Regions from separate parts of the Homo sapiens genome. Here regions 2, 3, 4, 5, 6 and 7 are each linked to region 1. Evidence: promoter capture Hi-C in 16 types of primary human blood cells and fetal thymus (Javierre and others, 2016). All regions are on one chromosome and are shown on one strand. Each heading gives the region's core, a stretch centred on a gene start or on the middle of the fragment in contact. The rest is flanking DNA. Distances are from core to core; before and after follow the strand shown. Region 1 holds the start of ARF5 (ARF GTPase 5). Region 2 holds the start of HILPDA (hypoxia inducible lipid droplet associated). Region 3 holds the start of IMPDH1 (inosine monophosphate dehydrogenase 1). Region 4 overlaps PRRT4 (proline rich transmembrane protein 4). Region 5 holds the start of LEP (leptin). Region 6 overlaps LOC124901744 (a long non-coding RNA gene). Region 7 has its middle 5.1 kb from the start of MIR129-1.

Region 1 (2,921 bases), core at 257-2,756:
CTCTACAGGAGTCATGGCACAAACTAGAGACCCCACTGCAAAGAGGAAGTAGTTTATCCAAAGATGTGCAAGGAAATAAAGACATGTTATGAGGGCTAAATCAGGCAGCCTGGTCCCAGAATCCTGCTTCTAAAGAGAAGTCCAAGCTGGGGAAGACTAAGGTGAGTTCTGAAGAGTGAGTAGGGGATAGCCAAACAGAAGGGGTAGAAGTGGGGAAGGGTTTTTTCCTTGGCCTGGGGGCCCAGCCTAGGCCAACAATTCTGTTCTCCCAGCCCTAACACCTTTTCCCGTGGGGTTAGAAAGTCCCCTCCCAACACTCCACCTGAGTGTTCTGGAAGTAGTGCCGCCACAGAGGCCGAATCTTGTCCTGGCCTCCCACGTCCCAGACTGTGAAACAGATGTTCTTATATTCCACTGTTTCTACATTGAAGCCTGCAGATAATTGGAAAAAAAAGATGAGAAAACTCCTGAAAGAAAGGAACTCACTAAAACTACTTAGATTTCAGCAGGGACACAAAACCAGAAGGCAATGATCAAGGCCCAGGGGAACAGAACCCCAGAACTGGCGGTCAACAGGGCGGGGCTAGGTCACATCCACCCTGCCTCCGGTATCCACGTAGAGATACCCTGACCCACTTCTCAAATAGCTGTATCTGGTGTCAGGGTCAGCTCCAGAAAAGTGGCAGAACTGGGAGCAGACCCCGCGAGGGCCCGCCGCGGCGCTCCCGCTCCCTGCTTCGTCCCCGGGCTCACCTATGGTTGGGATGGTGGTGACAATCTCCCCCAACTTCAGTTTGTACAGGATTGTGGTCTTGCCAGCCGCATCCAAGCCAACTGCAACGGAAAGGGGCACAGGGATGGAGATGGGAGCGAGGGAGCCCCCTAGAGACCAGGGAAAGGGAGAGGCCACAACAGCTGATGGTGACTGGGGCGGAGAGCGGGAGCGCCTCCAGGTGCGCGTCGTTATCTACCTTTGAGGCCTGGAGGGCAGTCGGGTGGCGTGAGCCAACTCCAAAGAGGGCGCGGAGCGGGAGAGGACTGGGAGGCAAGGGGCACGGGAGGTAGGCCGCGCTCGTTTTAAAAGTCGTCTCCAAGGGCGGAATCCTCCCTTCTTACCAGCCGGGCTGGGGCGGAGGGAGCTTCACCCCACCCAGGCCCGCAGCTCCGGGTGTCAGGCCCCGGGGTCGGCGATGCAGACCGGGACCCGCCCGAGAGCAGAGGCCCCGGGGCGTTATGAGGTGGGTGACTCGGGGCCAGAGACCCAGGTGAGCGGGGCTGGAGGGACGCGGGGGCGGAAGGGCTGCGCCGGGGCCGGCGCCCCGGTCCGGGCCGCGCGCTCGATCTGCCTCACCCATGAGAATCCGCATCTGCTTCTTCCCGAAGATCCGCGAAAAGAGCGCGGACACGGTGAGGCCCATGGCGGGGCCCGGGGAGGGGCGCGGGCACCGACGCGGGGTGCGGGCTGGAACTGGCCGGCCGCGGGGGGATGGGGCGCAGCAGCAGCAGGAGGAGGCTCCGCCGCCGCCTCCGCGCGTCGCTGCCCTCCCGACGTCACCGCGGGCCCGCCCCCGTCCGGGCCCCGCCCCCGGCTCTCGGCCCCGCCTCCCCCGGCTCTGGCTCCTAGGGGAGCTGAAGCTCCGCGAGTTGCCGCTGCTGGCCTGGGTCCCGTGCGGCCCTTACTTGGGAACGGGTCTAGGTCTCTAACGCGCCTGCCAGGCCTGTGGCCGCCGAACCGGCAGCCCGAGCGCGGCTGAGGAAAGGATTCATCGCTCCGCAGCGGCCCCTGCCCCCATTTTCAGTGGCCGGCCGCTGGGCTTTGGTTTGTTGCGTCCAGGCCCCTAGGGGCTCCGGTTTTAGCCCTTGGGAACCAGTAGCACTGAACGTGTGCACCACTCTCCTTTGGGGAGTGGAAGCTGCGATTAGGGGTCTTGGTCCTCCCTTTACTGCCTCATCTTCCACCGAGGGACTTGCGCGTAGTAGGTGGTCGTGTGAAGAGTGCGCGGGAGGTAGGGGAAGGTGCCCGAGTGCTAGCTAGCTTCCATGGTTCCTCAAAACGCCTACTTCCTAATTCCCAATCCGCAGAACCAGTGTAAGATTCCCGGCCTTGGGCGGCGGGGTCACAGACCCACTCCTGGGCTGTTGGAGAAGTCCACCTTCGTTTGGATCGCCCTGCGGGCCCCGCCTCTCAGTCCAGGCGCTGGCCGCTTTGCCGAAGTTCCTCACTTTGCCACAGACTTGTGGACCTGGCTTATTCTTGCACATCCATTCAGGATTTTGTGAAGATCTTGACTCCGTAGACCCAAAGAGCTTCACATGTCATTTCCCTGCCTCATTTTAACATCTGAGAGGAGAATAGCAAAATAGGAATGAAATTCTTCTGCGGTGGAGACTGGCTCATTGCCAGGCATTATTAGGCCTAACAAATGCTTGTTCAGTTGAACTGGACTGATAGATTCTCAATGGAGCGAGGGTAGGTGTTATGTCTACTCTGGATTCCCAGTGGGCTTCTAGGATCAATTGTTTATGGACTCGAGGTAAACTGAGCTGGGAATAAAAAAACCTTCACTCATTCATTTGCTTTTTCAGCAGATATTTACTGAGCACCCACCACTTGCCAGCACGTGATTTCAGGCTTTAGTTCAAATCTTAATTCTGCCATTTCTTGAGGATTTGGCTTCAGCACTCCTCATAACTCTTCCGTTATTTCATCATCTATAAAATGAGACTTGTTCTAACTTAAGGGGTTATGGTGAATCTTAAAATGATTTGATAATGTGACTGAATGTTATGTATAATACAGCTTGATGTTATTTGGGCCACTGAGAAACGGGGTCTGAACAGACCTCCAGGGCCTGCCCCATCCTGATCTGCAAAGTCTGTAACAAGGACAGACTTTGGGAAACAGGTATGAGTGAGTGAAT
Region 2 (2,921 bases), core at 158-2,657, 870 kb before region 1:
TCAACACATGCTTCATGGCTGAAAGGACCCTACTCCTCTGCAGAGAAACAGAGCTGCCTTCTCCTTCTGAAAGGCCTCTGGACCCTGAGAAAAAAGAGGAAAGGATGAATCTATAGCCTTTTGGGGATATGCATGCATCCAGCCCTGACTCTTCTGTCCTCTCACAGGGCTGAAGGAGAGGCTTAGCCAGTGAGGGACACAGGGACCAGGGAGTTGCACAGCAACTCTCCAAGAATATTTTACATTGCAAACTTCATGGCTGCGGAGCCAGTGTTGCTTCTTGGACTAATTCAAGAACACTTCTTAAAACTTTTACTTTCTTAGGCCAGGCGCGGTGGCTCATACCTGTAATCCCAGCGCTCTGGGAGGCCGAGGCGGGTGGATCACCTGAGGTCAGGAATTCGAGACCAGCCTGACCAACATGGTGAAACCCTGTCTCTACTACAAATACAAAAATTAGCCGGGCATAGTGGCACATGCCTGTAATCCCAGCTACTCGGGAGGCTGAGGCAGAATTGCTTGAACCCGGGAGGCAGAGGTTGCAGTGAGCCAAGATCGCGCCATTGCACTCCAGCCTCGGCAACAAAAGCAAAACTCCGTCTCAAAAACAAACAAACAAACATTTACTTTATTGAAAATTTTGTTCCTGCAAGGCACAATACACAACCCCTGTGCTACAGTGCAGGCATCAGTCACCTTCCTGAAATAGGCCCAGTCCTTTTGCAGGGGGGTGGTGGGTAATGGGAAATATAAGAACATGCCCTGGAGAAAGGAACCTGCCTAGAAGTCTCTCCCACATCACAGATTGGAGTTAACTACAAACTTTTTGCAAGTCCAAATAACTCTATGAGGGTCAAATCTATCAAGTTCATTTATTTAACAAACATACCATGAATATCTGCAATGTGTTAGGTACCCTGGAAGATACTAGGGCCACATTGCAAACCTTATAGACAAAGGGTAGTTAACACGCAACACGCTAAGTGTTGGGACAGCAAGGAGATCGTGAAGGTGCTCTGGGAGGGCATGGCAGGGATGCCTAACTCAGCACCTGTGGGCGTGGGATGGGCCACGTGGATCCTAGTTAGGACCACCTTAGGACAAAACAGGGCTGACGGCTGAATGGGGACCCCAGATGGGGCGTGGGCGATCAGAGAGGATCCCGGCGGCGCACCCCCAGCCCTGGAACGCGAGGCTGCTAGCGCGGCGAGCACTCTAGCGATGGGGGTGGGGAGCCGGGGAAGCCCACAGGGCCGCTCACCTCCGGGGGAACAGCCGGGAGTGGATCGCCGGCTGTAGGAGCAGGTCGTGCAGGAGTCCGGAGGAAAGTCGGTTACTAAGCACCAGCGCAGAAGCTTCCCGCCACAAAACTCACCGGAGACAAAAGCGCCGTCAGCCGCAGAGCGCAGAGCAACGCCGCCCAGCCTCCGCCCCTTATAGCCGCGAGCACGCCCCAGGAGGGTACGCGCACGCGCACTGGAGGCCGCACGCACGCCCGGGACGCACACGACGTGGCGCACGTCCGCGGCCCCACCCCGCGGGCAACGGGGTTTGGGGATTGTCCCGGGTGCTCTCCCGCGGAGCTGTTTCCAAAAGTACACGTCGTGCGGTTTTGAGTCATTGTGTTCTGGAGTGAGACGAGGCGTGTGTATTAATCTCGACTGCCATCTCTGCTGTAGAAAACATTTGAAGGAGTCAGAGAGCACATATCCCTTCTCCCCAGTAGGTGAAAAACACCGATGGCCTTCGTGTCCGTGAAGCCCCGCCGTGAAGGGTGGGTTCTTCCCCAGAGATTTCGGGTGCACTAAATTGTCAGAGGGCACCAGACCCCTACCCCACTCGTTATTTTCTTCATTTCAAGGACTGAAGAGCTGGTTTTGTTTCACTTCATAGCTGTACCAAGATTCCAAATCCCGAGTTTCAGTTGCCATCGGTATCTCTGGAATGGTGAGGCCCTTGTGCAACATATTAAGCTCTGCAAGCTCTGCTTTCTATGAGAGTTTGTCGTGTCGCTTCAGAAAACGTGAAATACTCCTGGCCCTGGTGTGGGATCCTAACTGCATATGGGCAAGTCACTTGGTATTTAAATGGGCCTCGGTTTTCTCATCTGTAATGAAGACATTGGCCACTAGATGATTTTTCTTCTTCTTCTTCTTTTTTTTTTTTAAATAGAGACAGTCTCGCTATGTTGCCCAGGCTGGTCTCGAACTCCTGATCTCAAGCCATCCTCCCACCTCTGCCTCCCAAAGTGCTGGGGCTACAGGCGTGAGCCACCGCGCCCGGCCGCTAGATGATTTTTAAGGGTGCTTTCGGCTTGAACTAAAGAGCCAGGAGGTCACAGACCAGCCTTATGTCCAGATTTGGGGGGCTAGGCTGCCTTACTAATCACCCCCGAACCCACCCAGCCAAGACTGTGCGGTCTGTCTTGAGAGCACGCAACGGGGGATCTCAGAAAGTAGAGTCCCGGAGAGACACTGGGAATGGGGAGGACCCCCGGGAAGGGGTGTACACGCCGTGGAAGGGAAGGCCGCTGGTGGCTTTAGAACTGGCGGTTCCGTGTACCCGGGTCAAGTGCCCGTGCCGGATGGGAAAGAACCCTGTGACTTTCCACATCTCAGCGAGCTCGGCGGGCTCTGCTTAAGAAGGGCTCTAAGACGGGAAGGGAGGAGCCATCCCCACTGCGACCTTTCCCCTCCTTTCCTGGCTGGCTGGCTGTGGTCTGTCGGGAATGAGGGGGTGGGGAAGCCGGGAAAGCAGAAGGTTGGGGCTGGAGGTCTGCTGGCAGGCAGGCAGACATTTGGAGCCAACTTTCCTGCTCAGCCCGCAGAACTTTTGGTCCTTCGCTATACCAGAGTTTCGTCTGTTTTTTTGCTTGACTGTGTGACCCTTCTCTCACACTGTTATTAAATAGGTCTCAAGCT
Region 3 (2,921 bases), core at 198-2,697, 820 kb before region 1:
TTTAAAAAACTTAAATAAAAAAAGAATCCTGATTCTGGGGAGTGGGTGTGTATGTGCATAGGAAGAGGCACGATGAAGGATAAAGTCCAAGATCTTACTGTTGCATAAATTCAGCTTCCTTTGTGAAATCGTTGCTGAAAGTCTGACCCCTAATACATCTTAGCACTCCTCAATCACGCAGTGTTTACCATTTGTTCCCTCAGACTTGTCAGACAAAAGTCCAGATGCGCCGGGCGCGGTGGCTCACGCCTGTAATCCCAGCATTTTGGGAGGCCGAGGCGGGCGGATCACAAGGTCAGAAGATCGAGACCATCCTGGCTAACACGGTGAAACCCCGTCTGTACTAAAAATACAAAAAATTAGCTGGGCGTGGTGGCGGGCGCCTGTAGTCCCAGCTACTCTGGAGGCTGCGCCAGGAGAATGGCGTGAACCCGGGAGGCGGAGCTTGCAGTGAGCCGAGATCGCGCCACTGCACTCCAGCCTGGGCGACAGAGCGAGACTCCGTCTCAAATAAAATAAAAAATAAATAACATAACATAAAATAAAATAAAATAAAATTTCCAGATTCTTCTCGACTTAAAGATGGGGCTACCTCAGGGTAAATCCATCTGTAAGGTTGAAAAATCTTAAGTCAACCATTGTAAGTCGAGGACCATCTGTATATGGCATGAGAATTATCAGCTGTTTATTTTCATCTACTTTGTCTCCTGAAATAAATTGCCTGAGGGCAAGGACTCTTACATTTCTTTGCCATTTTTGCTAGGTGTTCAATCACCGTTCACAATGATAACAGTAGGAAAAAGTGCGCCTTCTAGTAAGTGGACAAACAAGTTTGAGTACACTGCTCTGCCCCACTCCCTTGTTACGGGGTAACATAACAAGGTAAAGTACCTCCACAACGAGGCAAGACTAGGTCCTGTTCCTTAAGGAGCCCGCAGCCTTGTCTGTTCTGTTCGTTCCCTGGCAGATTACAGGCTGTGGAGATCCCTCTCCCCGCTCTCTAACGTGGAGTCGGCTGAGCACGACTCTCTCGCCCCAGCGCGGGAGGTCTGCGGTCTGCGGGTATGAGGCGCTCCAGGGGACCTGGCATCGTCGGCGTGCAAGAGAGGAGCGGACCTGAGACGCAAGGAGAAGCCCTGCCTCTGGAGTCCAGCTCCTTTCCTCTTCTGGTTTTCCTCGGAAGGGGCCAGGAGACACTGGAAGGTCCGGACGGCAGGGAAGGGGACGGGGTTCTTTCCAGTCCCACCCGTGTAGGGACACCTCTCCCCCTCATCCCCCGATGTACCCTCGCTGAATCTGGGATGGGAGAGACGAACCGAGTCTAGGCATCTGCGTAGCAGCGCCGGGGAGAGCGGGGAGCCCAGGGCGGAGCCCAGTCGACTCCCGGATTCCCCTGCCCCGCCCCCGGCACGAGGCCCCGCCCCGGCGGCCCCGCCCCTCCTCGGGACTCGACCGGGCTGCGCTCACTGCCCAGCCGGGGCCCCGGGAGCCTCCAGGCTCCCGCCCGCCCTGAGCTGCGGCCTCCGCATGGAGGGGCCACTCACTCCACCACCGCTGCAGGGAGGCGGAGCCGCCGCTGTTCCGGAGCCCGGAGCCCGGCAACACCCGGGACACGAGACGGCGGCGCAGCGGTACAGCGCCCGACTGCTGCAGGCCGGCTACGAGCCCGAGAGGTGACGCCCAGGGCAGAGCGCGCGGGGCGCATCCGGGGCGGGCGGCCGAGGAGGGCGCGGCGGCTCCGGGAACCCGGCGACGCTGCGGGGGAGGGGCAGGCCCCACAAACCCTTCCCCTATTACCGCCTCAGCCTCTAACTTCCCGAAACGCCACGCTCCCGGCTTTGGTTGGGGGATGCAGACGGGCACTGTGCGAAGGGTTAGGTGCTTCGTTGCACGGGGGAGCGGAGGAGAGGGAACAGGTCGTAAAAACCTTCCCTAAAATCTTAGCCCTAGATTGGACCTCGCTACACACCCGACGACACCCCGTTCAGGTGGCTCCAACTCCTGGGGTTCAAACAGTGCTTGCTGGAGTCCTGTCCGACTGACTTGGCTTACCCCTCCTTAGCTGTTTCCTCCTAGAACTATCTTCAGTGGTCTTACTGGCAGGTGTTGGTGTCCAGATGGATCGCCTTCGCAGGGCTAGGTGAGGACACTCTCCCCTCCTCACCATGCACTGAGATCTGAGAGGCTGCCAGTGCAGCTCACCTCAAGGTCTCTCCGAAGACGCAGGCCCCCATGCTGGGGTCTGTAGGGGAATGAGGGACACTGGAGGAAGAGTAGGGTAGTGAGCTGGGCCCCAGGGGGACTGGCTGAAAAGGAGACAGCAGCTAATCTCTGGATTGTATCGCAGCTTGAAATGCAATCCCACTGTCCTTCCGGTCCAGAGGATTTGGACTTCTTTCTCTGCCCATCTGCTGGTGTTCAGCAGCTTGGGGAGGTGACCTGGCAGCTGGGTTAGATGGGGGTGGTCTGGGGGAATTAGCCCGGCAGCTCTGCCCAGGGGTTGGCCGCTTATGTAAGAACTTTTAACGGCTTAAGGGGCTCCTCGGCAGTGGGGCTGCTGAGTTAGGCCCCCCTGTCCTGGCAGGCTGCCTCTCTAGAATTGACTCAGGCTTAGGCAACTCCCAGCCTTTCTCCTGTCCTAGAAATCCAGCTCCTGGGGTTCAGGCCGCAGGGCGATAGGGAGGGGCCACAGGGGCTGAATGAGCCGGTTGGGGCTTGACAGAGGCAGTGCTTGGTTAGAGTAGGGGTTGCAAACATAATGTTTCAGAGCTCAGGCCGGAGCCATGTGAGTGCATCCTTTCTCCAGATTGCACTTCTGCATCAAGGGGCCATCCCTACCCCCACCCCCAACCGACCCGCACCCCCCACTTGGGCTCAGGGAGCCTGTGTAAACCTGAGCCCCAGCCAGGTGGTGTAGTGAG
Region 4 (2,921 bases), core at 301-2,800, 760 kb before region 1:
CTAGGCCTGCGCCTGGGCGAGGTGGGCGTCGCGCTCCCGTTGGCGCTGCTGGGCCTCTACCCGGCGCTCTGCAGTCCTCGCGTGCCGCCGCGCTGCTGGGCCAAGCTCTTCCGCTTGTCCCCGGGCCACGCGGCTCCGCTGCTGCCGGGAGGCTGGGTCACTGGGCCCCCAGACAAGGAGCCCCTGGGGAGCGCCATCGCTCGCGGGGACGCGGAGCTGCTGCAGCTGTGCGCGCTGGCAGGGCCAGGCCCAGACCTCCTACTCCAGGGCGGAGGTTGCCGGGGCTTCGAAGGCGCGGCGGCCAACCCGGCCCCGTCCCCGGCTTCCTCTCCCTGCAGCGATTACACCGTGGACTTCCGCCCGCCCTCCCCAATCAACCTGCGACGCAGCATCGAGGAGGCCCTCTGCAGCGAGGCCCTGCTTGCGCCTGGCCTCTTCCAGGGCCCTGCCTTCGAGGACGCTCTGCCTGGGCTCGGACTCTACCGCACCGCCTCGCTGGGGACCGGGGGCAGGGCCAGTGAGAGATCAGGGGAGGCCTCTGGCCCCGCTGCGCCCCCGGAGCTCCCCTCCCCTGGGGCTTGGCCCGCAGGCAGCAGCGTCTCATCTGGCTCGTTCTGCGGACTCTCGCGGGACAGCTCGTCCATGCTGCTGTGTTCCAGCCCCGACAGGCCCCCGCGCTGCCCTCTGGTCTGCGTCCTCAGTCCCCCGCGGCCCTCAGGAAGCAGCCCCAGCCTCCCGGCCTCAGGATCCTACCAGGCCCTGTCCCCACCCTCTCGCGACTCCCCAGAGCCTGCTTCTGAGCTGCAGGCCGAGGAGGCCTTGCTGCAGGAGCAGTTCCTGGACGCCTGCCGACAGATCGACGAGCTGAGCGTGGGCAGCGACACCATAGACCTGTGAAGAGGTGGCCACCTTGCTACCCTGCGATATGCCCCTTTCTGGCGCCTGCCCTGCCCGAGACCTGCACACTGTAATCCTTCCCCAATCCTCCCTGGCTCAGATACCTCTCCAGATTCCTTCCCCATCCAGGGGTCCCTGGGTGGGTGGGTCAGCAGCCAGGCTCTATCGATTGGGAATCAGTGCCACCTTCTCTGGAGCCCTGGGTGCTGATGCCCTCAGCTGCAAATCTAGGTTGGCAGGGGTCCCATTTTCCTTGGCATTCACCAGCAATAAAGCTCCAAGGTGCTCCACTCCTGACCACCACTCCCCACTCTGGTGCTGAGTGAGAGGGGCTGTCCTCAGAGGACCCTGGGACCTGCCTCAGGCCCCCCTACCCACCTCTGCCATGCCTAGGAATCCCACCCCTGTGTGAATGGGACTCCCTTTCCTCCATGTGACACCCACAGGGGTCCATGACCCATCTAGGAGACTTTATAGCAGTTGGGTGGGAGGGGAATGCTCTTAATTTATCAATAAAATATTTTCAGAGGAGCAAGGTCTGACTTTTTTGGGAAAACTCAATTGAGCAACAGCACCAGTGATTCCATCACTAGTGGAAGAGAAGCAGCTCTTGGGTGGGGTGGGTCCATTCCAGACCCCAGGGACCTTCATACAAGACCAACGAGTCTTGTCCTGTTTCTGGGATGAGTGGGGTTACTGGGAGCAGCCCCTTGAAGACTCTTCTGAATCGTTGGGAAGTGGCTTTTCACAGAGATGGGACATCGCCCTGGGAGGTGAGGCAGAAACTCTACTGTCATTGGTGGAAATGCCTGCATTCTTAGGAGTTGGCTTCAGGTCCTGGTAGACAATTGGCTGGGGACTAGTTAGGAGTCAAGTCCTTCATGGAAATATTGAGACGCATGTAAAAGGTCCTGGTCACCTTGAGCTGGGATCCTCAGCAGCCTCCCTGCCATGTTCCCACAGTTTGGGATCCACAAAGAGGAAACTACCTTTCTACCTTTTCACCCACCAACAGGGGCTCTTCAACCCCCTCCCCCTTCTCCTGAAGAACTCTCATCTCTAATAGGTGCAGATCCTCCCTGGAGAAAGCCTGTCCAGCCCAGCCAGCTCCTGTAGCAAAGTTCACAGTGAGAGACCCACAAACACATCCAACCACCAGGCACTCTGTAATCCCTCCCTTGCCTGGAGCATTTGGCTCTGCGCTCTGTGGTGTGTGTTTGTCATTTGGCTAAAATGCGGTGGTTCCGAGTAGCACAAAAACAGGGTTGTGGATTAGGTTTGAAAACAAAAATCTGACAGTGTTTTGGCAGCTGTCCTGCATATCACAGGGAGACCTGCAGGAGCATACACACTAGGCTCAAAGTGGAAGCACAGGAACCTCGTGATTTTTTTCTTCCAACTTTGCCCATCAGCTCCTGGGGACTGGAAGGGAGGCTTGGGAGCCAAGAGGGAAGCAGGCAGGGAAGCCAGGAGAGGGTAGAGCCCTTGGCCAGACCAGGTCCAATGCAGGAGTGGAAGAATTCAAGCACTACTCTCCTTGCAGATGAACATCTGTCTTGGCTGAGAGGAGCGTCCAGGGCCTGGGACCTCAGATGGAGGAGGAGAATCAGTTGTGTTTGGAGGAGAGAGAGAATCATAGTGGGGAAGAGAAATGGGAGGGAGGTGGTGCCGGTGCGGTGGAGGGATGGGACTAGAATGGTTTTGATTGCGTCTCCTCCATCACCTGGCTCAGAAATTCTTGCTGCATCCTCACTCTGGGCTGAGGCCCAGAGAACTGCCAACCTCCTAATTACAGGCATTTCTCACTGGTGTCATAGTGGCTGCAGTGGGCCCAGCATCAGAGTTGCTTTGTGTCATGCAAGGATTGTTGCTGCTCTGAGAAACTGCTCCCTTTCTTTCCCACTCACTCTTCTATCTGCCTCTCATCTGCCTCTGCTCACACTCAGCTCCTCGATGCCATCTCTTCCTCACACTGGTCCTTGCCAGCTCCTGTCTCTCTCACTCACTCTCCCCAACAAGGGTCC
Region 5 (2,921 bases), core at 168-2,667, 650 kb before region 1:
TCCCCAAATACCAAGAAGAGTTATTTTGGGTATAAAATGTACAAAATATGAGGAGGACGCTCCTTTAGCCAATGTGGAAATGTTCCCCTCAGCCCAATGTCCACAACTGCTTGGGAAGGGAAAGAACCTAAAAGCATCCACTGTTTCTCTCTTGCCTTGTCTCCCTGCCTAAGTGAGAGAAATGATCAGTGTGGCCTTCTTGTTTCTAAGGGCATTAGAACAGGAGCACTCACGTTGCTAGAAGCCTCCATATCTGGTTCTGCAGACAATCCTAATATGAAAGAGATTGGCAAAATTCCCCAGTTCCAGCTGCCCATGGCCCACCTCAGAATCCTACAGAACAAACACAACTCCGGCTGCCAGAGGTCATTCTGCACTGCAAAGGAAGAGAGCCTGTGCTCCTGGAACGGTACCACCAAGTCTCTGCTCTTCACCCACCTCCCCAAAGATCACCCTTCCAACAGAAATTAATCACCTCTTGGAAGCTGCTATTCTGAAATGACAGCCAGGCCACTTGTCTCACTTGGACCTAACTGTATTTAAGGAGTCACTTTCCCAAAGCACCACTATCTTTAAACTATAGAAACAGGAGTGTAAAGGCGATGGCACCCACAGTGAAATCCAAACCAAGCCCAGACTGAAGGAAGGCTATAGGTGAGCCTGGTGGGCCAACAGCGCGTATTTAGCAGTCCTGGCTAGAAGTTCCCTAATAACCAGTTCTGACCCCCAGAGACACCTCATTGTATGCATTGCAAAGAAGGCAATTTGCATGGCTTTGAGGACAGATCTGGTAAGACCCTGCACAATTTCTCTGGAAGATTTTGAGTCTTCCTGACACTTGTTTCCCCCCACCTCTACTCATCCTTGCCTTCCTCCCAGGCATTGGCCTTACACAGCCCCTCTCATTCAGAGGTCAGGAACTTCCCTGGAAAATGAATCCTGAATTCCTACCCGCAGAGCAAGGCAATGTCTGGGACTGAGACTGATCACTTGCATCTGCGTCTCTCCTACCCCCAACTTTATCTCCTTCAGACTGGGGTGGGACATCCTGATCTTTGGGGATGTGCCCAAGGCAATTTCCAATGCATCTCAGCTCTGCGAATGCCACCAGGTTGGTGGGTCTGACAGTCTCCCAGGGACCTGGCTGGTTCTGCAAGGTCCTGCCTTCTGGGCACCGGCACAGCCCAGCAGCAAATCCAACGCTCCCCAGCTCCCGGTAACCTTCTATCTGGCTAGAACTCGGTACAAAGCTATCATAGTCCAGAACTAAGCCATCCGCCCTGCATCCCTCCTGACTCAGTTTCCCCGGGATCCAGAGTTGTGTGGGGCCCTGTGGCCTGCCAAGAAAGACCAGCAGAGAAGGAGGAAGGAGCGCGCCGGGGCCTTACCTTGCAACCGCTGGCGCTGCGATTCCTACGGGGCTCCATGCCTGCCCGCCCCTCTTATAGCGGCCCGATCACAACTTGCGCAACTGCCCCGCAGGCCCCGGCGCATTTCTAGCGCCAGCTCCCGCCCCGCCCCTCAGGGTAGCGACGTGCCGGGCGGCTGCTAGCCCTGGGCCCGCAGTGTGCACCTCGCGGGGCCTCGAGGGAGGGCCTCGGCGCGCCAGGAGCCACGCGCGCACCCTTGGGTACCTCCCAAAAATTTGGGGGTGGCTGGTAGGAGCGAGAAATCCTTGATGTCCCTCCAGAGGCTCCGGCGCGACTATGGCGCAAGGACCAGCCCCTTGGGAAGGTGCTTCGAGCCGCGCGGGGCGCGGTCGGGGCGGGGGTGGCTGTGAGGGGCTCCGCGGAGCGGGCTGGGGCATACGGCTGCGCCCTCGTTGGTCCTGGCGCGGCTTCGGGGTGGGAGCGAATCGGGACTCGGCCCCGACGGCCCTGGACGCCAGGGAAGCCCAGGGTTAGAGGGAGCGGCCCGCAGTGCGCCAGGCTCCCCGACCCAGATTGCGGGGTTGGGGGTTCTGAAGTCCCACCCCTTCTCTGGCACGCGGAGAATCGAGTTCCAAGCCTCAGGGCAAGTTGTCTCTGGCTGGCACCCCAGGGAGTGCACGCTCTCTGGAGGGCTCCAGGCGGGCACTGTGGCCTTTGGGGACACTCTGGACATACTGTGGGTCTCCATCCTCAACTCCGTATTTCCTACGTACAAAGTGGGGGTTGGGGGGTGGTCCCAGATGTAGCCACGTTTTTGTCATCATAGCCTGTGAGTGGTGTGGTAGGCATGTTTCACCTGTATCGTTTGTAGTTCCCCGCTTTACATGATGGGTTGGTTTGTTTTGTTTTGTTTTGTTTTGTTTTACCCTTGGGCTTCAGGGATGAGGAATCTAAGGTCCAGCGAGGTTAAATGACTTTCCTTAGAATCCACAGCTGGTAAGGAATAGCAATGGGCTAGGAACCCAGGCCTATTCTGGTCCCCACTGCGCAGAGCAGCTCCAAAAACAAACCACTCCATTGAGAACCAACCCAGCCAGGCGTGGTAGCTCAAGCCTGTAATCCCAGCACTTTGGGAGGCCAAGGTGGGTGGATCACCTGAGGTCAGGATTTCGAGACCAGCCTGGCCAACATGGTGAAACCTCATCTCTACTAAAAATACAAAATTAGCCAGGTGTGGTGGTGAGTGTCTGTAATCCCAGCTACTTGAGAGGCTGAGGCAGGAGAATGGCTTGAACCTGGGAAGTGGAGGTTGCAGTGAGCCAAGATCAGACCATTGCACTACAGCCTGGGCAACAAGAGTGAAACTCTGTCTCAATAAAAAAAACAAAACAAAACAAAACCCATAACATAAAGCGGGGAACTGCAAATGACGTTGGTGAACCGAGCCTGCCACTGCCGGGTTTGGTAATGCCCAAAAGCTAAGAATGGTTTCTACATTTGTAAAAGTTTGAAAAAAAAAAATCAAAAGAAGAGGCCAGATGCAGTGGCTCA
Region 6 (2,921 bases), core at 236-2,735, 630 kb before region 1:
CAGCCCCTCTCTGCAAGGATTGGGGGCCAGATGCTCCCTCCCTGGAAGCCACATCAACGACAGACCACTGCTCTACTGAGAATTCAATAAAGACTTTTTACAGAACATTACTACAGCTCTTTTTACAGACTCCTACAGTGCTATACAACCCAACATTTACATGTAATTTTCACTTCAGCAAGATCTTTTAAATTTAAAATCTCAGCACAGTCACTGAAGCCACAACTCCCTATCTAATCAAAGTTTCTATCAATGTTAAAAGTTGGTTGTTGATTTTTTTTTTTGAGTCCTCAAAGCTGTCTGTGATTCCAGAGAGCTATGTTCTTCCCATATACAAAACTGTTCCCCTGATCCCATATCTGGAATAGTTTTTCCAATGAAAGAATGGTTTTGCGAGAAGACACACATGCCTTGGTAAACTAGCTCTCACAAAGAAGGAGGAGGAGGGAAGGAGGAAGAGAAACCCCGATTTGTAGGGGTTTACCAATTTCCATGGTATAAATACTTGCACCACGATAGATTTCAAGCTACTAATGATTTTAAAAATTGGCTTACAAAGCTCCAGAATATTTTACACCTGGCTCTCACAAGCCACTATAAGTCTGCTCCTGCACGTCACTGCTTGTGTCTCTCATGGTCACAAAAGCCCATTTTATAGATTTTAATCTGGGTCAGGGGTAAAATCTGTGATCTTGATCAAAATGAAGTCAACTAGCCCCACCAGGACTCAATCTCACCATCCGGTTTCCATTCTCGCCATGCTTTAAACCCTGAGCACAGGGTTTAAAGCTGTGCTGGGAAGCAGGAGGAGACAAAGGACCCCTCAATCCCCTGCTGCCTCGAGGATATTCTCTTTCTCTCCCTTCCTCTGTAGTTCACTCTCCAGCTCATTCCCAGGTCCCGGGTGAGCTAGCTGAAGTGGTCATGATAATACTAATAAGCTGATTTCAGAGAAGAGTTTAGTTCATTGCACCTTTGGGAAAGACCTCGGCTGGTGCTTTCCTAGGATAACAAGCTTCAGTGAAACTAACAGGGACCTGAGCACAGGTCACAAATCCATGTTCATCTAATACATGCTTCTGGTAAACCTCCCCAATTTAGAAGGACCACACATTTGCTGGAAATCAGTCACCCCACTGGCCATGGGCATTTTCATGGGGTCTTGGTCTGCGTGGAAAAGTGAAAAGTCAGTGAAGAGCAAATCCGGGTTGGATTGGTGGCAGGTGGAACAGCTGCCCAAGCATGCAGTGCTTTGTCTGGAATGGAACATCTCTATTTTTCATTCACCAAAGGTTGTGGGGGCTTCAACAAGTGCTTCCAGCCTGACTTCCTGCTGATGACAGGTGGTCAAGGTGATGTTCAAGTTCTCCTTGGGTCCTCAGTGACTCTCTGCACTCCATGTGTGTGAAAACGTGCAAGGAACTTTCATCCCAGAGGCAGAATTGAGGCGTTCCAAGGGGGCAGGCCATTGAATGTTCAGAATTCCAAGTTCATGGCTAGGATGTGGTATTTAAGAGGCAAACGATGATCTGGGAGCAGACCTTGGAGAAAACTGGGATTGGAGGAGATATACTCTACCAAATTAAATATAAGTGGGAACTGCAGCAGGCATCTGACCTGGAACTGGAGGTTTCCAGAGCAGCTGGCATGGTGAAGGAAGGACACACAGAATTGGAATTTCCCCACCCCGTCCTCTGACTGCTCTTGTTCCTCCATCAGGCAAGACTTGCTGGGAAGCAGGAGGAGACAAAGGACCCCTCAATCCCCTGCTGCCTTGAGGATATTCTCTTTCTCTCCCTTCCTCTGTAGTTCACTCTCCAGCTCATTCCCAGGTCCTGGGTGAGCTAGCTGAAGTGGTCATGATAATACTAATAAGCTGATTTCAGAGAAGAGTTTAGTTCATTGCGCCTTTGGGAAAGACCTTGGCTGGCGCTTTGCTAGGATAACAAGCTTCAGTGAAACTAACAGGGACACTAACTCACTCCACTGCTATATTCTTATTTTATATGCTGAAGGTGTCAATAGTCACTACCATAAGTAGAATCTGCTTTTCCTCTGGCAGTGGAAAGGCTAAATTGTAAATGGTGTCTTCAGGCCTTCTCTCCCTTCTAGGACTTCTCTGAGTTCAGGGGAGGGTGGACACAGATGACTTCAAACCTTCCCCTACCCTTGGGGTCCCTGGTCAGTGTTCTCCATAGTGTATGACGGCATTTGAAACATCAGTAATGACTATCCTTTCTCTTACACCCATACCCTCTCTTTACTCATAGTATTATTTTGAGGAATACATGAAATTATAATCATTGTAACTGAGCATCTACTATGTGCCAAATCCTGTGCTAGATATTTTTAAATATTATTTCCGAACCTAATAAAAACATCGTGCCATTTTATAGATGAAGAAACTGAGACTCAAAGAAGCTAACAGATTTGCTCACAGTCAGTGAGTGTTTAGGTTTTAGCTCATGTCTTTTAATCTCTATTTTTTAAATTGTTATTTTATTTTTTTAAAAAGTAAAATAAAATGGAGTCTCACTATGTTGCCCAGGCTGGTCTCGAACTCCCAGGCTCAAACCATCCTCCCACCTTGGCCTCCCAAAATTCTGGGATTACAGGCGTGAGACATCGTGCCCAGCATTTTAAACTCTAAGGCTCACATTTTTCTACTACACTACCATGTTATATAAAACATGGCATCAGACAGCACAAAATTAGGTTGTGCTGCAGTTATAGGCAGCCTGAAAATCTTGGTGGCTTACAACAACAAAGTTTTACTCCATCCTCACGTGCAATGCATGATACACACGCCTCATGTCTCTTCTCGGAGCTCGGTTTCCTAGTATTCCAGGATTCCAGCTGGTGATGGAAGAGCCACCAGACTGTTGCCAGTTCCCATGCTAGAGGGAGAGGGAGCTCTGGAG
Region 7 (2,921 bases), core at 303-2,802, 610 kb before region 1:
TGTGCCTCGAAGTGTGCCTGGCACATAGTAGGTGCTTAATAAGTATTTACTGAATAAACTCACAGATGAAATGAACCCAAGGTTGAGACTGTGCTTGGCAAACACAGAGAACACTCAGATGTGTGGAGCAACTAAACATCGGCCTCATTCTCTCCACTCCCCACTTCTTGGACCATCCACACAGGCTGACTCGGACGTCAGAGGCTCACATTTCCAGTTGCTTCATTAACAGAAACCAGCCCTTGTGTGGGTCCTCCTGCTGCAGAAGCCTATGCTTGTTGAAAACAATTCACAGCCTTTCCTCCCAAACCAGCAACCCTCCAGAGCTTTTCTGGCCAACACTCGACCCCGTCTAGGCATTCGTGGTAGGAGGGTTTCTCCCTATAAGTGACAAGGGGGCCATAGGAAACCCCCAACTCTCACCCCTCCAAACTGCTCCCTCCCACTTCCACTTAATAGGGAGGAAGCTTTCCTTGCAAAGGTAACAGGAAACAGAGCAGAAAGCATCTTCCTATGGAGGTGAAAATGGCTGAGATGGAGCCTTTCCTCAGAACTCACTGCATTTCACTGAAGTGGGAGTGGGGAGGGGGAAACAGGCTTTTGAGCCTGTTAGGAGCCTGTTAGGAGGAAAGGGAGGAGGAGGGGCAAGGGAGGGTAGGGGAGTTGGGGAGGGCAAAAAGGGGACCCAAGCAGGGCCCCACTAGCCCCAACAGACCCTTCGCGCAAATGAGAGAAAGGGGCCCCCTCTCCCAGACCTGCCAGTGTGGCCGGGCTCGTAGCCAGAGCTGGTTTCAGTCCCAGCTTGTCCCCTTGGCCATCACCTCTGTTCAAGGACAGTGGACACAGCCACATACCTCACAGGCTTGCTCCTGTCTGCCAACTGTGATTCCTCCCCCTGCCCCTGTTTCAGATCAGTCCTCAGGTTTTGCCTCCACAAGCCTCTTGGACCCCCTGCCACCCGCCTCACCAGCCCAACCTCCTGATTGTGGCCCGTCGCCCCTCCGGGAATAAGCTGTGTACTTGGCTGAGATTCCCACCTTCCCCGTGTCCCTCCTGGGACTTGGCAAGCATAAAACATGAGCTGGCGCATGGACAGAGGTCTTCAGCTTCCCTCTCCCGCTTTCTTCCCACGCAGGCTTTTGGACCAGGTTCTGAAAAGGACTTTCCTCAGGCCACTCCCCTGAAGAGGATAAGGGGTGAGGGACCCCAACCAGCATCTGAGATCGCACAGGGCACAGGGTGGTGAGGTTGGATCTCCTTCTGGCTCAAATGTGTGCCCCACCCTGTCCCACCAGCTCTTCTGCCTGGCACCCTCTGCACAGACAGGACCACCAGATCCTGCACTGTCCCTCCTCCCAAGCCCAGCCATAGTCCCAGCTTACCTCCCACCCCTCCTCCAGAAATTCCTTCCTCCTCTGTCAGAAAGTCTTCGCCATACACCCTTCTCCTCCCTTTCCCCATCCAAACCCTTGCCTGCTGAGTGGAGATAGATCAATCTCTCCTCTTTCCTGGAACTTCCCTTGGTACCTTAATCCCTTTCCCTGAATCCCTGCAGCTGGTGCCTCTGGGCCCTACATCTGCTCCTCAGTTGTTGGCTTGGCAGACGTCAATGAGTGCCTGCGCACGCCTTGCTCTGTGCTGGGAGCTGGGGATGTAGAGACAAGCCCACCACAGACCCTGTCCTCCAGGGGCCCCCAGATTAGAAGGGAAGTGTGGACATTTCTCCTTGGGTGCCCGGAGCCCTTCCAACTAAACATCCCGAAGCAAGCGCATCAGCCTCTCCTGGAGCCTGATCTTTCTCCTGGGCCGCTTCTTCCCATGGCACCAGCACAAATAATGATGGGGCAAAATCAGCATCCATGGGGACTGGACGAGGGTCCCAGTACTGCAAGGCCCGGGGAAGAAGATTCTCCAGGCTGAAAGGGGTGAAGGGGAGGAGGAAAGGAGGCTTCACCAAAGAGGTAATATTTGAGCTGAGCTGGGAAGGATGGGAGGGGTTTTAATCTGAGACGAGGAGGAGGAGGAGAGAGAATGGCAGAAGCCAAGGCTCAAGGCCGAGACATACACAGAGGGGCTGATTTGTAGGCACAGGAAGGGGAGAAGTGAGAGAAAAGGTGGGAAAGGATGTTCAGGCAAACCTTGGTGGTCCGTGCCAGGCGAAGAGCCTGCTTTTCCTCTACAGGCAATGGGCAGTCTCTGAAGGTTTTGGGAAAAACCTGCGAAATTGACTGGAGGAGGGAGAGGCTGCTGCAAGTCGGGGAGAAAACAGAGGCTTCGCAATGCTGCTGAGAGGTAATGGATGGAGGCTGACCCCGAAGGACGGACGTAGGAGAGGAGGCAGCAAATTTATGAGAATATAAGAGACAGGAAGGGGTAAGGCACAGGTCGTCTGGGAGGCAGGGAGAGGGGTCCCGGCGACGAGGACGAAGGGCAGCCACAGGAGTAGAGCGAGGTGGCTGGATCATATGCAGCATGCGGTCCAACGTAATAAACAGATGTCGGAGACCCACCACGTACGGGGTCGTTTTCTGCTCTCAAAGTGTAGGACTTGATAATGACAACGATCTGTGAAGGGCAGAATAGGGACAGTGGGAGGCAGACAGAGAAGCCGGCGGAGGAAGGAGGCGTACAAGCTTGGGGGCCTCGCTGAGTCCTGCACACCTCCGCTGTGGTCCAGGCTGAGCGCCTCCTCGCACTGTCCCTGCAGCCTGGCCAAGTGGCTGGGGTCCGCGGGCAGCCTGCGGGAACCGACCCGGCAGGAGCCCCGCCCACCTGGGAAGGAGGCGCCTCAGCGCCAGGGAGCCACGTAGCCACGCCCACCCCGGTGGGCCCGGGTGGGGCGTGGCCTCCAGAGACCGCAGGGACGCGACCCCCTGCCCTGAGCCGGGAACTCCAAGAGGAGGTCAGGCGGCCGAGCGCCA

The links. The method cuts DNA at HindIII sites, captures the fragments that hold promoters and counts their contacts. A CHiCAGO score of 5 or more calls a contact.
Region 2: a contact is called between the fragment with the promoter of HILPDA here and the fragment with the promoter of ARF5 in region 1, in 2 of 17 cell types (fetal thymus and non-activated CD4 T cells). The highest score is 9.0, in fetal thymus.
Region 3: the fragment with the promoter of IMPDH1 here is called in contact with the fragment with the promoter of ARF5 in region 1 in 1 of 17 cell types (fetal thymus); the score reaches 5.4 in fetal thymus.
Region 4: a fragment that was not itself captured here is called in contact with the fragment with the promoter of ARF5 in region 1 in 5 of 17 cell types (fetal thymus, neutrophils, total CD4 T cells and 2 more); the score reaches 9.4 in fetal thymus.
Region 5: a contact is called between the fragment with the promoter of LEP here and the fragment with the promoter of ARF5 in region 1, in 4 of 17 cell types (neutrophils, monocytes, erythroblasts and 1 more). The highest score is 10.7, in neutrophils.
Region 6: a fragment that was not itself captured here is called in contact with the fragment with the promoter of ARF5 in region 1 in 1 of 17 cell types (neutrophils); the score reaches 7.8 in neutrophils.
Region 7: a contact is called between a fragment that was not itself captured here and the fragment with the promoter of ARF5 in region 1, in 2 of 17 cell types (naive B cells and endothelial precursors). The highest score is 6.7, in naive B cells.

What each region holds. Positions count from the first base shown.
Region 1 is chr7:127,586,996-127,589,916 of GRCh38, reverse strand. ARF5 (ARF GTPase 5) reads right to left here and starts at 1,506. Exons shown (of 6, transcript NM_001662.4): 1 at 1,352-1,506; 2 at 754-834; 3 at 323-432. The coding sequence starts at 1,418. It overlaps LOC105375490 (a long non-coding RNA gene), which reads left to right and starts at 71. Exons shown (of 5, transcript XR_007060511.1): 1 at 71-161. It overlaps LOC105375489 (a long non-coding RNA gene), which reads left to right. Exons shown (of 3, transcript XR_007060513.1): 3 at 1-48. RefSeq lists enhancers at 180-805, 806-1,432, 1,433-2,058, 2,059-2,685 and a silencer at 1,180-1,669. The HindIII fragment of the contact is 7,240 bases long and covers 1-2,921 here.
Region 2 is chr7:128,454,364-128,457,284 of GRCh38, reverse strand. HILPDA (hypoxia inducible lipid droplet associated) reads right to left here and starts at 1,407. Exons shown (of 2, transcript NM_013332.4): 1 at 1,262-1,407; 2 at 1-84. The coding sequence starts at 16. It also overlaps the pseudogene EFCAB3P1. RefSeq lists a silencer at 1,355-1,494 and enhancers at 1,595-1,764, 2,673-2,921. The HindIII fragment of the contact is 2,271 bases long and covers 1,358-2,921 here.
Region 3 is chr7:128,408,508-128,411,428 of GRCh38, reverse strand. It overlaps IMPDH1 (inosine monophosphate dehydrogenase 1), which reads left to right and starts at 1,447. Exons shown (of 17, transcript NM_000883.4): 1 at 1,447-1,673; 2 at 1,945-1,988; 3 at 2,077-2,140. The coding sequence starts at 1,528. RefSeq lists an enhancer at 791-1,030 and a silencer at 1,301-1,920. The HindIII fragment of the contact is 8,032 bases long and covers 1-2,921 here.
Region 4 is chr7:128,348,832-128,351,752 of GRCh38, reverse strand. PRRT4 (proline rich transmembrane protein 4) reads left to right here. Exons shown (of 6, transcript NM_001174164.2): 6 at 1-1,428. The coding sequence ends at 897. Among named protein-coding and RNA genes, the nearest start is that of RBM28, 6.4 kb to the right of the region's middle. The HindIII fragment of the contact is 5,699 bases long and covers 1-2,921 here.
Region 5 is chr7:128,239,774-128,242,694 of GRCh38, reverse strand. LEP (leptin) reads right to left here and starts at 1,417. Exons shown (of 3, transcript NM_000230.3): 1 at 1,389-1,417. RefSeq lists a cis regulatory region at 1,463-1,471 and promoters at 1,389-1,635, 1,389-2,921. The HindIII fragment of the contact is 7,258 bases long and covers 1-2,921 here.
Region 6 is chr7:128,218,577-128,221,497 of GRCh38, reverse strand. The region is part of intron 1 of LOC124901744 (a long non-coding RNA gene); the gene reads right to left. Among named protein-coding and RNA genes, the nearest start is that of MIR129-1, 12 kb to the right of the region's middle. The HindIII fragment of the contact is 935 bases long and covers 1,018-1,952 here.
Region 7 is chr7:128,201,279-128,204,199 of GRCh38, reverse strand. No RefSeq gene overlaps it. Among named protein-coding and RNA genes, the nearest start is that of MIR129-1, 5.1 kb to the left of the region's middle. The HindIII fragment of the contact is 2,166 bases long and covers 470-2,635 here.